Regions from separate parts of the Homo sapiens genome. Here region 2 is linked to region 1. The links are contacts of gene promoters, found by promoter capture Hi-C in human tissues and cell types (Jung and others, 2019). All regions are on one chromosome and are shown on one strand. The core of a region is centred on a gene start or on the middle of the fragment in contact, and the rest is flanking DNA. Distances in the headings are between cores, read along the strand shown. Region 1 holds the start of C1QL3 (complement C1q like 3). Region 2 has its middle 87 kb from the start of MINDY3.

Evidence for each region. Contacts are between HindIII fragments. The study calls those that stand out against the background at their distance.
Region 2: a fragment that was not itself captured here is called in contact with the fragment with the promoter of C1QL3 in region 1 in 2 of the 25 tissues and cell types used here (aorta and mesendoderm cells).

The regions. Positions count from the first base shown.
Region 1 is chr10:16,516,953-16,524,850 of GRCh38, reverse strand. C1QL3 (complement C1q like 3) reads left to right here and starts at 2,972. Exons shown (of 2, transcript NM_001010908.2): 1 at 2,972-4,373. The coding sequence starts at 3,786. It also overlaps a transcript of PTER not described here. RefSeq lists silencers at 3,032-3,261, 3,532-3,751, 4,062-4,121 and enhancers at 4,421-4,921, 4,922-5,422. The HindIII fragment of the contact is 8,174 bases long and covers 1-7,427 here.
Region 2 is chr10:15,943,960-15,951,857 of GRCh38, reverse strand. No RefSeq gene overlaps it. Among named protein-coding and RNA genes, the nearest start is that of MINDY3, 87 kb to the right of the region's middle. The HindIII fragment of the contact is 5,608 bases long and covers 1,223-6,830 here.

The DNA of each region.
Region 1 (7,898 bases), core at 1,723-4,222:
CATGATCACGGCTTTCTGGATTGGACTTCATCTTCTGGAGGGTCCACAAGGTCCAGGTACAGGTGCAATGGGAGTAGGGAGCCTGGTGTTTTCTTGAGAGATGGTTGGGAGATGCTGCAGAAATGAGAGTCCAGGGCCCACTTCCAAGATTCTTATCGAATATGAGAGAAAACTTGGTTCTCTAATGAGGACTGAAGAAAATCAAATATTTTTTTAATTGACACGTTTTCTATTATTATATATATGAAGATGATGAGTAATATGCCATATCAGATGGTTTATCCAAACTGTCAGAACAAGAGCTGAAGCGTGAGTAACTTTGCAGAGAACCTTCTGGGAAATTCAAGCAGTAGAAAGTCTCAGTAACCAGCCATAAGTTCGTTTACTACCAAGTCATCCTTGAAAATTGTGGGGGAACCAAAAGGTTCCCCCAAAGTGCACAGTGAGATACTTCTGGAGGAGAGGAAGGAGACCAAGAATTTAAATTTGCTTCACTACAGAGCCAAATATCCATGTGTTGCCCAGGCTTGTGCAGTTAATAGAAAGTCTGGGGTCAGCCACGTGGCCTGGGAGGGAGTGACTTCATGATGAATGATGACTGCTGAGTGCCTTTCTAAATCTCAGCAGAGCTTTAAAATGTGAGGGCACTCACTTGCAAAATCAAATTTGCTTTGGCGTCAGAGAAAGTAGGAGGAAAGCCTCAGTTACTAGAACTAGTATGGCCAGTCTCGGGCTGGGATGGGATATATCCATATTGTGTAGAGGGGAGTACAGCAGCAAGCTCATTGAATGGCATTGATCCTCCTGGAAGCTCTCTGTTTCGGTCTCATCATCTGCATGAACAGAGAGTCCATTTCAACTCTTAATATTTTATAAGCATTGATGAGCATTTTATGAGCATTTGACTCCAATATATCTTAAGCGTTAGTCAATGGGAAAACTCCACATAGCTTGAGGTTTTGATGAGAACTTCTCTATACATCTCTACCTTTTAAAAACTCCTTTTGTGTCACCTACAGAACTCTTCATAGCAATAGAGAGGCCTTATGAAATTTGATAATCTGGTGCATCAGAGTTTTATTAATATCCTACCCCCCCAGTGCTGGCAGCAAACCTCACCATTTTGTCCTCCAAAAGGAAGGTGACTTTTAAGAAGCAATCCAGAAGGTGTGTTAGGAAAGTAAGTATTATGGCCAGGAGACAACTTATTATGTGTTTGCTCCTTAAAAATATGAAAATAAGGCAGCTCATGTGAACAAAAATATTATGGAACTATGTGTATAATTATGCCCAAGCAATAGGCGCGCATTTATAAAACCACTACCCTAAAATAAAAGTTAAGGGCTTGAGAAGTGGGAAGCCCTATTTTCCAATACCAGGAGCAGTGTGGCTCTCTCAGTAGCCAGGAGGTGGAGACCCCCACCCCGCTGAGCCACACAGCACAGCTTTTAGGGTTGATTCTCCCAGCCAAGGCCTGAAGGAGCTACTGACATTTCTCTTAAAAGAATCATTCAGTCTTTGTTTCCTTCTGTCTGCTCGTTTGACCTTATTTTGTTTTGAAACAGAGAAGAAAGAAAGAAAGAAAGAACTAAATTGGTGGGGTGGACTGGAGTAGGCTGGGGGGCGGGGAGATTGAGGCACAGGGAGGAAAGGAGAAGTCCATGCTGTGACACCCGCAGACAAGATCACAGGCTGCTGATCGTCACCCAGGATGTTACTGTTTGCTTGCTGTAGTCTTATTTGTTCCTGCTTTTCTCATTTCAGATTCTCACCCTGATGTAATAAGTCACCGTCTTCCCAGCCATCATCCTCGTATTGACAAGCAAATGTCACCCACGTTTGATTGACATCTGTTGCTCCTGAATGCAAAAGTATGATTTAGGATTCAATTCTACTTATTTATTTAAAGCCATTCTTGTGTGTCTTATGTATTTGTTGGTGGGGTAACTTGCCTGATATCTACCCTGGAGGCCTTCCAGTAATATGATAAACCATGCTGTTCCTTCTGCAGCTCACCCACTGAGAATGGGGGCTCTTCTTTCTTGTATTTCTCCTACTTCTCCCCTCCCTCAATGTATATTCGGGAAATCTGCTATGGAGCTTATAGAACTCTTTCCATATGCTAGGAAAAGACCTTGCCCAGCACTTGTGCAAAAGCTTCTTGCTTGATCTTTTGACGCCATTTTGACAAGTGGTTATTTCTTGTACATTTAGCGACTTTAAGTAAACGCAACTTCAGGGCCATTGGCGGTATCCCCCGAAAGACTGCTAGAACTGTAAGACTGTAAGCACAGTACGTATGTATGCACTCACCACGGTGCAGCATTTGTAAAAAGGACCAACCCCCTCCTCCCCCAGAGGCGGTGGACATGTTCATTTAAAATCATTCACAAATGTTCTTTGGCTTTTCAACATACCTCACTGTTCTTGGGGCAACATCTTATTCATTTACAAGGCAGAGGAGGAAAACCATCAGGTTAAAAGAAAATCACATCTACCATCTGGAAAATTCTAAAAGGCCCTCCTTCTGTTAACAGTGGCATTTTGAAAACACCTGAAGCACTGATTGTAGAGGAGCTAGCAAAGAAACTGTCAACTCAGCCACCCTCCTTTCAACCTTCACCTCCACCCTCCAACTGGGGCTGCTGGCAGTGGGGAAATCGGGGATTTAGGTGTGACCCTTGAGCTCTGAAAGCTGTCGCACAGCTGTCTCCCTTCCCCAGGTGGGTCCAGCAGGACCTGCCATCGCTTGGTTCAGCAAGGGAGTATTCAGAATCTCACTGTTCATCCATGTGCAGAGAGAGAAAAAAAGAGAGGCCGAAAAAAAAAAAAAAATCCCACATTGTCAGAGTAATGCCAAACTCTCTCTGAGTGGGATGAGCAGAGCAGATGCTGCAATGAGATGCCAAAGCGGCTCCCCTTCCTCTGTGCCTTGGGTGCCTATAAATTGCTCCGGCGCGCGTTTGTCAGCCTCCTCTTCTCCTGGCAGGTGGTACCCAGGCAGAATTCTGCCTTCAGTCTCTCTCTCGCTCCGCTCCCGGCCGTGAGGCGCTCGCCGCTGCTCGCTCGCTCCTCCGCCCCAGCTCTGAGCCTCGCCGTGCCGACCGTGCCCGCCGCCGCCGCCGCTGGGCGCACCCGGGGGACGCCCGGGCCCACGCGGGGCTTTGGGGTGCGCGTCTATTCGAGTTGTGGTGGTGGCAAAGGAGGAAGAGAGAAAGGAGGCAATAAAAAAAAAAGGCAGCGGACGGGCGAACTGAGCGAGCGAAAGAAGAGGAGGAGGAGGCAGAAAAAGGCAACTTCAGACGGAAAGTTGGTGCGAACAGGCGCAGTCTGCAAAAACGGAAAAGTCGATCGCAGGCGGCGGCGGCATAAAAGTGTGAGCTGCCCGGGCGAGCTCAGGAGGCGGCGGCTGGCTCTGCCCTCCCGGTGGCCGCGCCGGCGCCGGCTGCAGCCACAGGTGCGAAGGAGCTCGCGGGGGGCGAGGGCGCCCCGCGCACCCCTCCCCCGGCCCCCACCCCGGGCTCGGGACTTCGGCTCAAGTCACTGGGCGCCCGCGCTCCCTCCCCAGCCGCAGCCTCCGCGGGGGGAGCAGGAGTCGGCAGCAGCGGCCGGCGCACGCACGCCCAGGGGAGTTGGGGTTCGCAGGGGGTTGTTTTCGGCTCTGAAGAGGTCCCCGCCCAACCTTCAAAATTCTGTCCAAAAGCAGACAAGAGGATCGCCCCGCGCTGAGCCGGCTGGTGGGCAGCAGGAGGCGCCTGATCGCCGCCGGGGCGCTGGGGGTGGTGATGGTGCTGCTGCTGGTGATCCTCATCCCGGTGCTGGTGAGCTCGGCCGGCACGTCGGCGCACTACGAGATGCTGGGCACCTGCCGCATGGTCTGCGACCCCTACGGGGGCACCAAGGCGCCCAGCACCGCTGCCACGCCCGACCGCGGCCTCATGCAGTCCCTGCCCACCTTCATCCAGGGCCCCAAAGGCGAGGCCGGCAGGCCCGGGAAGGCGGGTCCGCGCGGGCCCCCCGGAGAGCCCGGGCCACCCGGCCCCATGGGGCCCCCGGGCGAGAAGGGCGAGCCGGGCCGCCAAGGCCTGCCGGGCCCGCCCGGGGCGCCCGGCCTGAACGCGGCCGGGGCCATCAGCGCCGCCACCTACAGCACGGTGCCCAAGATCGCCTTCTACGCCGGCCTCAAGCGGCAGCATGAAGGCTACGAGGTGCTCAAGTTCGACGACGTGGTCACCAACCTCGGAAACCACTACGACCCCACCACCGGCAAGTTCACCTGCTCCATCCCGGGCATCTACTTCTTCACCTACCACGTCCTGATGCGCGGAGGGGACGGCACCAGCATGTGGGCTGATCTCTGCAAAAACAACCAGGTGAGCGCGGGCGGGCGGCGGGGAGGGCGGGGAGGGAGCGCGGGAAGGTGCGGGCGAGAGGGAGGAGACCCCGGAAATGGGGGTGGGAGCCCGCGGAGGAAGGGCGCGGCGGCCGGGCTCCCTGGAGCGACGGCAAGGGGGGACGCCGTCCCACCCTGGAGAGGCGGGGGTCGTGCGCGCAGGAGGGCGCCCCGCGGCCTGGAGAGGGCAGTTCCGGAGTCTGGGACCCTCGATCGGTGCGCGCCCCTGCGAGCGCGACCCTCGAGGGGCGGGAAGCCGGGAGCTGGGTCCCGGGGACAGCTCGTGCGCTGGGGAGTCCCGGCGCGGGAAGCGACCCCTGGCCGTGGGATCCTCCGCAACAGAGGGTAGCTTACGGGCTTTCTGGGGAGTGGAGAGGCCTGGGGGAGTCCGGAATGGGCGTGGCAGGGTGACCGACTCGGGGGTGGTAGACAAAGGCCGGAGGGAGAAACAAGGGCCCCGAAGGAATGAGTCCAAGCAGGGCTCAGCCACAGCGGAGGAGCGACCGTGGGGCTCGCCGTCGCCGAGTCCTTGCGGTGTCCCAGGCCGTGAAACTCACATATAGTCAATTTCAAGGCGCAAACTCCAGTTTCGTCTTCAGCCAAAAAATAGCGGAGGGGAGAGGCAAGGAGTGCTGATAACAAAAAGAATAGTTGAGATTCGGGGGTTCATGCGGTGAAACACAGCGCGCAGCCAGACTCAGAACCCAAACTCTCTATGGAGTCGGAGGACGCTCAGGCAGGTGGCCTGGGGGGCGACCGGTTCGAGCCCAGCCCCGGGTCTATCGGCCTCTGGACCAGCCGGCCAAGAGGATTTGATTCCCTGAGCCGGTCGGCGCCGCTACAAGGGCTACGCATGGGTCTGCAGTATTCTGCTGGGGCCACTTTACTGTGGAGAAATTCGAGGTCATTGCAAAACCGAAGCTTGTTTGATCTCTTAGTCAAAGGAGGAAAATAATATTTGTAACTACCTAAAAGTGTAATGGGACCTTCTGTGCACGCTGAATCAGTAGCCACTGAGGCGAGGCCTTGCAGCCTGCAGCCTGCGGTGTGGGCTGAGTTTCTCGGTTTTAACTTTGCTTATTGAGTGGCATAGGGGATGGCCCGCGACCCTGGCATCGCCATCAAGAGACCTCCTCTCCTGCAGCAACTTTGACTTAACGAGGTCTATTGGGCTTTAGGTAACTCGACCCCTGGACATTCAGAGATTCTTAGCTATAACCCAGGTTTCTGTTAAGCACCATTCAAGCAGGATTCGGAAGACCTACTTCAGTGTCAGAATTCTTTCAAAAGTGAAAGACCAAAAAAAAAAAAAAAAAAGTCCTAAATGCGTAAGAGAGAAAAAAGACAAAAAACGTCCTATTCTCTACCCTATCCTACAAATAGCTTAAGGGACCCTCAGGACACATATAACAAAAAGAGGAAAAATGGCCACCAGGAGGCACTGACAGGGTTGTTTATTATAGTTATTATGCATGAAAATAATATTAAGATAAATAAAAATTATTCACAGAACAGTAAAACAGTTATAGGCAAATGGCTAAAACGGGCAGGACTCACTGTACCAGAATGGAGCTATTGAATCACCCTCACAAAAAGGCTTATGAACAGTCCCTCAGCAGGCAGCCATGAGACACCCCTTTATTTGCAAATTGGCTCTCTTCTGACTCAAAGGTCAGGTCTGGAAAATACAATCGGGCTGAAGAGATGATTTTTAGAGGTATCAATTAAAATGAAATGATTCCAATTTTATCAGCAAATGTGTAAAAATGCTCACATCTTTAAATATCTGGAAATTGCAATTGCATGAAAAAAGAAGGGATTAATACATTTAAATTAGTTTAAATGTTGATGTCTAGACTGCTGAGCCTGTGTATATTACACTGATTTGAAGAAAATAACACCATGTAGGTGTTCTATGTGCGTTTTGTTTTTAAAATTATTTCACTGTTTGGGGTGTAAAATCTTCCTTTGTATCACACTAGCACACACATTCCATGAGGATCAGGAAAAATAGTAAGGTAAAACAGCTGACCTTATAATGTATAAGTCTTTTCATTGGTAATATTAAGCTGCTACTTCTGCAAAAGGTATGCAACAGGTAATTCAGAAAAATAAATCTATAGTGGTAAACATTTTTTTTTAGTTCAGTGTGGACTATTTTGGAAAATGGTTACTACACTACTACAGTTAAGGAATTTTATCTCTAGATTAGAACTATTTTGTCAAGTCCAGTCTGCAGGCAGTTACAAATGAGAAATCTTTTAAAATCTTTTTATTAATTTTAAATAATACTTCACTCTTGCTTTTCAATTATATTCTGGTCTGATCACTTCTTAGAATGGCAGGTTCCCTCTCTGAGCTGACTTAATTTTTCATAAAACAGAAACTCAGAGATCCATGTCAGTGTAATGTTCTATGGATTAAGTGGATTTTGAGAAGCACAAAAATTAAACTAAAAATGCAGTTCCCTCTAAGAGAGAGAAATGCTTCTGGACTGTAACCATATGAGAGCCATTTTATTTATACTTTGTGTAGAATGTAAGATCACAGATGGAAACATCAAAGACCAGTAAATTAACCTGATGTGCCACTTAACCTTTTGTTTATGATTCCACAGAAGTACAATGAAAATGAAATTACGAGAACATCAGTAGCAATTAATTAAATTACAAATGTCACCATAAATATGATCTCTAATGATAGATCCTCACTAATAAGATAATGCTAAAACTATGAAACCTATTGCAGACACAGAAACATATCCCTAAAATGACCGCAGCTCTCATACTCCCCATGAAGCCATCAACCTAAATTTAATCCTACCATTTGTTGAAAGCCCATGACAGTGCATATTAAAGGTAAAAGTTCAACTCAAATAGCTTTACATTTGGAAAGAGGAAATCTCTTTAATGTTGATAATCCTTTTAGCAGAAAACATGAAGAAAAATTGCTATTTGAATACAATCACTCTAATGCCACTATAATAAATAAGCCACTCGAATGAAAACTAATACTGTTTCAGGATTAAAAGCATAAAATAATTAAAGACCAGTTGGTACTCTTAAAAATTTATTAGTTATGGCACCGATGCCCATGAAATATTTTTAAAAGGATGAGTGGTTTGTGGGTTGGTATTCGCTTATTAGAGAGATCAATGACATGTCAAATTCATAATCTTTTTAGGGTTAAAGAAATACGGACTAAACATAAAGCAGAATCTAAATAGTTATCTTGTAATAAGAAAAGATATTAGAGTAAATTCAGGTAGAAATCGGTTGATTGCGCTGAAGGAAGGATGGATCTTATTCCCAGACAGAATGCTGAAATCACTGTACATTTAGGAATCTGGAAACAGCCTCCAGGGTGAACACATTGCCTTCCTCAATAGTTTGATGGCTTGAAAGAATTGTTGAAGTCACTGAGCTGAATACTAGAGCTTGAAATTTCAAGTCCTGTTATATCTTTAGAGTAGGATCAGGTGAGCAGCCATACCAAAATCATGCCA
Region 2 (7,898 bases), core at 2,777-5,276, 570 kb after region 1:
ATACAAATAAATACTACCTCCAAACACCGGACAACCAAAATGAAACAAAATAAAATAACTAATGTAGCATGGCACCAGGAAACCATTAAGTCCAGCACATCCATTTGTTGATGTGTGATCTTGGGTATTATCTTTTCATAGGTTCTGTTTCCTTATCTATTAAAGTGGGATAAATACCTGCCATCTGGTATTGTAAGAATTCAGTAAGAGAGGTATAGGAAAGTGCTGCACTAAATCTAAACACATAGCCAAGCACAGTGGCTCATGCCTGTAATCCCAGCACTTTGGGAGGCCCGGGGCAGGTGGGTCACTTGAGGTCAAGAGTTCGAGACCAGCCTGGCCAACATGGTGAAACCTTGTTTTGACTAAAAAAAAAAATACAAAAACTAGTCAGGTGTGGTGGTGGGTGTCTGTAATCCCGGCTACTCAGAAGGCTGAGGCAGGAGAATCACTTGAACCCGGGAGGTGGAGGTTGCAGTGAGCTGAGATCACACCATTGTACTCCAGCCTGGGCAACAGAGTGAGAGTCCATCTCAAAAACAACAACAACAACAAAACTCTAAAGACATGTAAGATGTCATTTATTATTATTTTCTTACAAATCCAGAAGCTGAGAAGGGTTGGGAGACAGAAGTTGAAGTAAGAATAATACGTGGGTTAAAACTTTCTCCTCCAAAAGGAGATCCAGAGCACTGGTATTCATTCATTTATTTGTTTTCTACAGAGTAGTTGACTCTCAGAGCTCTTGTCATAATATAGAATCACTTTTCCCTTGGAAGTTATTATATATGATTTTTTACATATAGTGAGAAATTAGTCATGAGCATTTTAAAAAAAACAAGATTGAAAAATCTCAGCAACCAATTTTTGCCTCTAGATGGGTTTATATGAGAAACAAGATAGAGTTAATGACACATGAAAAGGAACCATACAACACCTAACTTCTATTCCTGGCTTTGTCACTAATTAAAATGGAACTAATCCCAGTGATAATTTTTCAATACCATTTCCTTCTCTATAATATGTGGATGATAAAATCCACTTCTTATCCCTTTAAGAATATTAAACTACCAGGTATCTGTTGAAATGATAAAGTTCTATAAGATGAGGGGGAATCCCTACATTTACAATGGAAGCAAGAGAAGAGGACTATCTGCCTCAGAGAAAGGTTGAGGAATAACTGACAGATTTAAAGCCATTTGGGCCAGATTAATGTGAGACCTTACCCAGGGCTCGAATACAGTCCTCTGCTCAACAAGAGAAATCAGAGCAGTACTTTAAGGAAATGAGCTTCTTCCAGGACATTCTGGAGGAATGTAAGTAACATCCTTTGATTTGGAGGAGTTTCATCTGACTGTGATGGTGGCAGTCCCTGTGAGGATCACACCAATGGAAATTCCTTTGATAGCCTGGAGGTCCCTGTGTCTGTAAGCAGAGCCCCGGGACTTACACAGAATTATACCCATCAGAGAGGAAACAGTGCTGCCATGAGATACTTGCATAGTGAGATAAAAGTAACATTGAGCTAATTTTTTTTTGAAAATAATTAAATGGTTATTAATTTATCCTTGCTTAGAATTTTTAGAGAATTCTCTATGTTTTAAAACAAAGCAAATAGTAAAGACACATAAATAAGAGAAAGGATAAGTCAACTACGAGCAAATGGAAGGATACTCTTTGTATTCACTAGATTTATTTGGTTGCAACAGAAGCCGAATCTGGCTAACTCAAGGAAAGGGAAGAAGAGAAGTTTTCAGAAGAAGAGTCTCTGGGAGTTTCTCTGGTTGGAAGGAAGGGCCGAAGGACCAGGTAGAGGCAGACAAGATCAGGTCATGACAAAAGGTCTCCCAAGAAGACACTGTTTGGCAGTCCTACCCAGACTCCACTTGAGAAGTCTGAAAGAACTCTAAACATTGAGTTTTGTTTCTAGTGTCCACAGCTCAAGATTTAAAAGTCCCAGGAATCTGACTAGTCAAGTGGAGATCATATATATGCTTTCTCATGGCAGAACTCAGTCCGTTAGAGGAAGAATCTAACAGAAGAATCTCCAAGGACATGTTTGGATCCTGTTATGTGAGTGCTGACACTTGAATGTATTATCACATTAAGGCTGCACAGCACCTGGCGAAAAACTTTTCCGGAAGAAAGCTGGGATGCTGTGTGAAGTGGAAATGGACACAGAAGCTAAGAAATGACAAATGTTTATTACAGTTTCTAAGCATGAAAGCAAAGAGAGGAGGTGAGGATGCAGATATGGATAGATGCATGTGTCTGTATCCAAAATTATACTAAAGAACATTCATATATAGTTGGTCCTATTCACAAAAACTACGGTGAAGACCATTCCTTGTAGTATCTTCAGAATAGCAAAAGACTGGGAGGATGGTAAGGAATTCATATAGAAGTAAACAGGTCAAAGGAATTGTAGTATATATAATAGAACACCGTGATCTATTCTTTAAAGGCAGTATGTTTGCACGTGCTGATAATGAGTATACTCCAGGATACATTGGAAAGTATTAAACTGTAGAACGGAGTACATGCGTAATCTACCTCTGTAAAAGGACTTGTAAGAGAGAGGGAGGTGCAAATTTTATGCATGCACAAATGGAGTAATGGAGTTTGATTTTGGGATTAGGAAAGGTGGCCAGGAGTTTGGAAGATATAAAGAAAAAAACTTAGGTTTTCTCTATTTTTTGCACTCTTTGGTTTTTTAAAAAATGTGTACCTATCACCCTTCACATAAAAATTTGGTTATTGAAAAATTGTTAACATTTTTCCCAAAGATTACTCTTCTAAGAAGTTATCCTAATGAAATAAATTGAGCTAGAGGGAAATGTATACATTCAAGGATATTCATTTCATTATTATTTATAAAATAAGAAATTGATTAAATGAACGAGAAATTATAAAGAATTATCTGAAATTATCTAAAAGTAACTATAGCTATGAAAACATTTAAAATCATGCTCTAGAAGTATACTTGAAATGTGGAGATTAAAAAGAGATTTTTAAAACAATGTACACACATACAGAAAAATAGATATATATATACACATATATATATATACATATACACACACACATGTGTGAAACAATAGGCCACAACATACTTACTGGATGACAAGATTATGGGTGATTTTAATTTTCTTTTTTACACATTTTTGTGTTACCCAGATTTTCTGCAATAAACGTATTACTTTGTCAGAAAAACAGTCACTTAAAAGGCACACTAAAATATTAATTAGAAGATGATTTTTTAATGTGGAGAATTTAAAACTTTTATTTTTACAACTCAATACTAGATTAAATTATGGGTTTCTCTTGAATTTATTAGCAAGCTTAAATCTGTGCTAACTAAATTTTTGGCCCTTCTTTTTTTTTTTTTTTTTTTTTTTTGAGACGGAGTCTCGCTCTGTCGCCCAGGCTGGAGTGCAGTGGCGGGATCTCGGCTCACTGCAAGCTCCGCCTCCCGGGTTCACGCCATTCTCCTGCCTCAGCCTCCCAAGTAGCTGGGACTACAGGCGCCCGCCACTACACCCGGCTAATTTTTTGTATTTTTAGTAGAGACAGGGTTTCACCGTTTTAGCCGGGATGGTCTCGATCTCCTGACCTCGTGATCCGCCCGCCTCGGCCTCCCAAAGTGCTGGGATTACAGGCGTGAGCCACCGCGCCTGGCCAATTTTTGGCCCTTCTTAACGTTATTGTAAATATTAACGCTTACATTTCAAAGAGTGCCTATAGGAAAAGTTAAGTATTGTGGGAGGTATATTAAAGCCTTTCTCCTGTCTTAAAGAAATCACGGAACCTCTGGGAAATACAAAAACAATCATTATTTTTTAAGGTAGACATTGATACCATAACCCAGATTTTAAAAATTTGGCCCACTCACATGACCTTTTCAAAAGGAGACATATATGTGGCCAGCAAGCATATGAAATAATACTCAACATTATTAGTCATTAGAGAAATACAAGTCAAAACCACAGTAAGATACCATCTCACACCAGTCAGAATGGCCATTTTTAAAAAATCAAAAAATAACACATGTTGGCAAGGCTGCGGAGGAAAGGGAACATGTATACACTGCTGGTGGGAGCATGCATTAGTTCAGCCAGCGTGGAAAGCAGTGTGGCAATTCCTCACAGAGCTCAAAACAGAATAACTATTCAACCCAGCAATCCCATTATTGGGTATATGCCCAAAGGTATATAAATTTTTCTGTCATAAAGACACATGCATGCTTATGTGTGCATTGTAGCACTATTCACTATAGCAAAGACATGAATCTAAATGTCCATCAGTAGACTGGATTAAGAAAATGTAGTACATATACACCACAGAATACTATGCAGCCTTAAAAAAGAATGAGAGCATGTCCTTTGCAGGGACATAGATGGAGCTGGAGGCCATTATCCTTAGCAAACTAACACAGGGACAGAAAACCAAATACCACATCTTCTCACTTACAAGTGGGAGCTAAATGATGAGAACACTTGGACACAGAAACGGGAAAAACACACACTGGGGTCTACTTGAGGGTGGAAGGTAAGAAGAGGGAGAAGAGCATTAGAAAAAATAACCATTCGGTACTATGCTTAGTACCTGGATGACCAATTAATCTGTACATCAAATCCCTGTGACACAAGTTTACCCATAAAACAAACCATCACATGTACCTAGACCCTAAAATAAAAATTAAAAGAAAAAAAATTGGATCACTCAATGACAGATTTATCTCAGTGTCAAATCTGAAACACAGATGCATTCAAAAAGTCATGAAAAGCAATGTATGTTTCACTGAACACTGAAGACAATGAAACATGAATTACACTATACAACACATGGTACAATTTCTTCCCCAAATGCTCTTTGAGCATATCTTCCTCTCCTCAAATGTCTGCACCAACTCTCTCCTCTCCTAGGCATCTTTATAGAGTTCTGGCTTCTCCACGCCAGGATCTCTGCCTAAGCTCCTCCAATCTTTTCTTTCCTTTCAGATCATCCGTCTCCTATCAGTTCCAGAAATATCCATCCCATTTCTATATGCAGATAATTTTTGGTCTTGTAGGAGGAGTCTCTCTGTTCTTTTCTACACTTTTCCTCTCAGTCAGCACCACAGTTTACTCATCTGTAAAAATGTGGATTTTTTTTTTTTTTTTTTGAGATGGAGTCTCACTCTGTCACTCAGGCTGGTGTACAATGTTGAGATCTCAGCTCATTGCAACCTCCACCTCCCATGTTCAAGCAATTCTCCTGCCTCAGCCTCGTGAGTAGCTGGGATTACAGGTGCCTGCCACCACAGCTGGCTAATTTTTGTAGTTTTAGAAGAGACGGGGTTTCATCATGTTGGTCAGACTGGTCTCAAACTCCTGACCTCAGGTGATCCACCCACCTCGGCCTCCCAAAGTGCTGGGATTACAGGCATGAGCCACCGCGCCTGGCCAAAAATGTGGATATTAATACCAGTCTCTGATAGGTTAACTAAGACAACTATAGGACAATACCTGTCATATGGTTTATATGCAATACATATTCACTCAGTTCTTCAACTTTAACAGTTATGTTGAAGCTCTGTCAGCTTCTTCTCAATAATTTTTAGTCAAAATATAAGATGGTGCATTAAAAGCATTTCTACATCATTCTTCTCTGTGAATCCAACGTGCAAACAATAATAAGAACAGCAAATAAAATTCTAACTTCAATAGAAATAGGAAATAGCCACAACACTAACCCACAACTCTGAAGAGTAGCTATCAGACGGTATAATTTTAAGTGAGGAAAATGTTGTATAGTCATAAACTTTCAATATCACATGTATCTTGCTTGGAAAAGTCTTTTATTAGAAATGGTATTGCCCTGAAGAGAAATTCTTTTTCCTCCAGAAAGACATTGGGAAATAAGAATGAACTGTGTTCAACATTGCAAAATACCAGAAAAGGTAAGATTGAGAGAAAAATTTCACACGTGTTTCATATGAAAGAAACATGTACAAAATCCTTAAATAAGGCATGATGCACAAATTTAATACCAAGCCAAGATGCCATGCACATTTAAAAACAATAGAAAAAGAAATCTACATATTTATAGCCAATTGATCTTCAACAAAGCTGTCAAGAACATACACTGAGGAAGGACACACTATTCAATAAATTGTGCTGGGGAAATTGGATAACCATATGCAGAAGAATGACCCCTACTGCCCACCGTATACAAAAATCAACTTGAGATGGATTAAAGACTTAACTGTAAGACCTGAAACTATAAAACTACTAAAAGAAAACATAGAGAAGACTCTTTGAGACACTGATCTAGGCAAAGATATTTATGCCCAAGACCTCAAAAGCATGGGCAACAAAACCAGAAATAAACAAATAGCACTTAATTAAACTAAAAGGATTCTACACAGCAAAAGAAACAATCAACAGAGTGAAGAGAAGGTGGTGTTTGCATAATTTATTCTTTATGATCTACACAATGAACTGCATGCATTCATAGAGCAATAAGAGGATGTATTTCATGTGCCTTGTTTTTAACTGAATAATAATTGGAAGTATTAATAAATAAAACTAATTTAAATGGTAAACACAAAAAAGCATGCAAAGGATCTGAGTAGACATTTCTCCAAAAAAAAAGATATACGAATGGCCACTAAGCTCATGAAAATATGCTCAACATCATTAGCCGTCAGAGACATTTAAATCAAACCCACAGTGAGATCCCACCTCACATCTACTAGGATGATTATAATTAAAAGAGAGAGAGAGAATGATTGTTGGGCAGAGTACGTTAAAGTCAGAACCTTCATACACTTGATAGGAATGCAAAGATGGTGCAATCTCTTTGGAAAACAGCCTGGTATTTCAAGAGATTCTCTGTCTACATAGAGTTTCCATATGACTCAGCAATGCCACTCCTAGGAATATACTCAAGGAAAGTAAAACGTATGTCCACACAGAAACATGTACATGAATGTTCAAGGCAGCATTATTATAATCAAAATATTGCAACAGTTCAAATGCGCATCAAATGATGAATGGATGAATGAAATGTCTATCCAGACAATGGAATATAATTAGACAATAAATATAAACAAGATGCTGATTCATGCTACAGCATGTATGAATGTTGAAAGCATTATGCTAAGTAATGCTGAAAGGAGCCACAGATTATATGCTTCCATATATACAAAATATCAGGGATAGGCAAATCTATAGAAACAAAATGTAGATAAGTGATTTCCTAGGGCTGGGGTGCTGGAGGGATTGAGGGGGTGACAGCTTGGAGTGTTCTGTATCTTTTGGGGGTGATGAAAATGCTCTAAAACTGATTGTGGAGATGGTTACAGAATTCTGAATTACTTAAATCCAATTAACCATCTATGTTAAATGTGTGAATTGTATGGTATATGAATTGTATCTCAATAAAGCTGTTAAAAATAAACAATTTCAATTATTCAAGATCTCAGGGACTATAAGTATGAATGAGGCTTTCTTGGGGGAAAAAAATGATACCAACAAAATCTCTCCATCCACGCAAGTTACTTCTGTGTTGTTCCTGCATCTCGCTAACAAAACCCTCTGGATCTGGCTTCCTGTAACAGTTTAGTGCCCTCAGGAATCAACATGTCTTTCCCAAGTCAGACTGGAGGCAGAAAACTCCAGGAGCTGCTGTGCTGTGCCAAGCCAGCTCCAGCACAGAAATATCATTTCACTGCACCGACACCATGCTGGGAAGTGTTTTCAAGTCTTCTGCGTTGCCCAGCCATGCAGCCCTTTCAGTGCTGTCTGGATGGCAACCTTATGAGACCCTGAGCAGAGAGCCCACCTCCACTGTGTCCAAACACCTGCCCCACAGAAACTCTGAGATCATAGATGTGTGTTGTTTTAAGCTGCTGA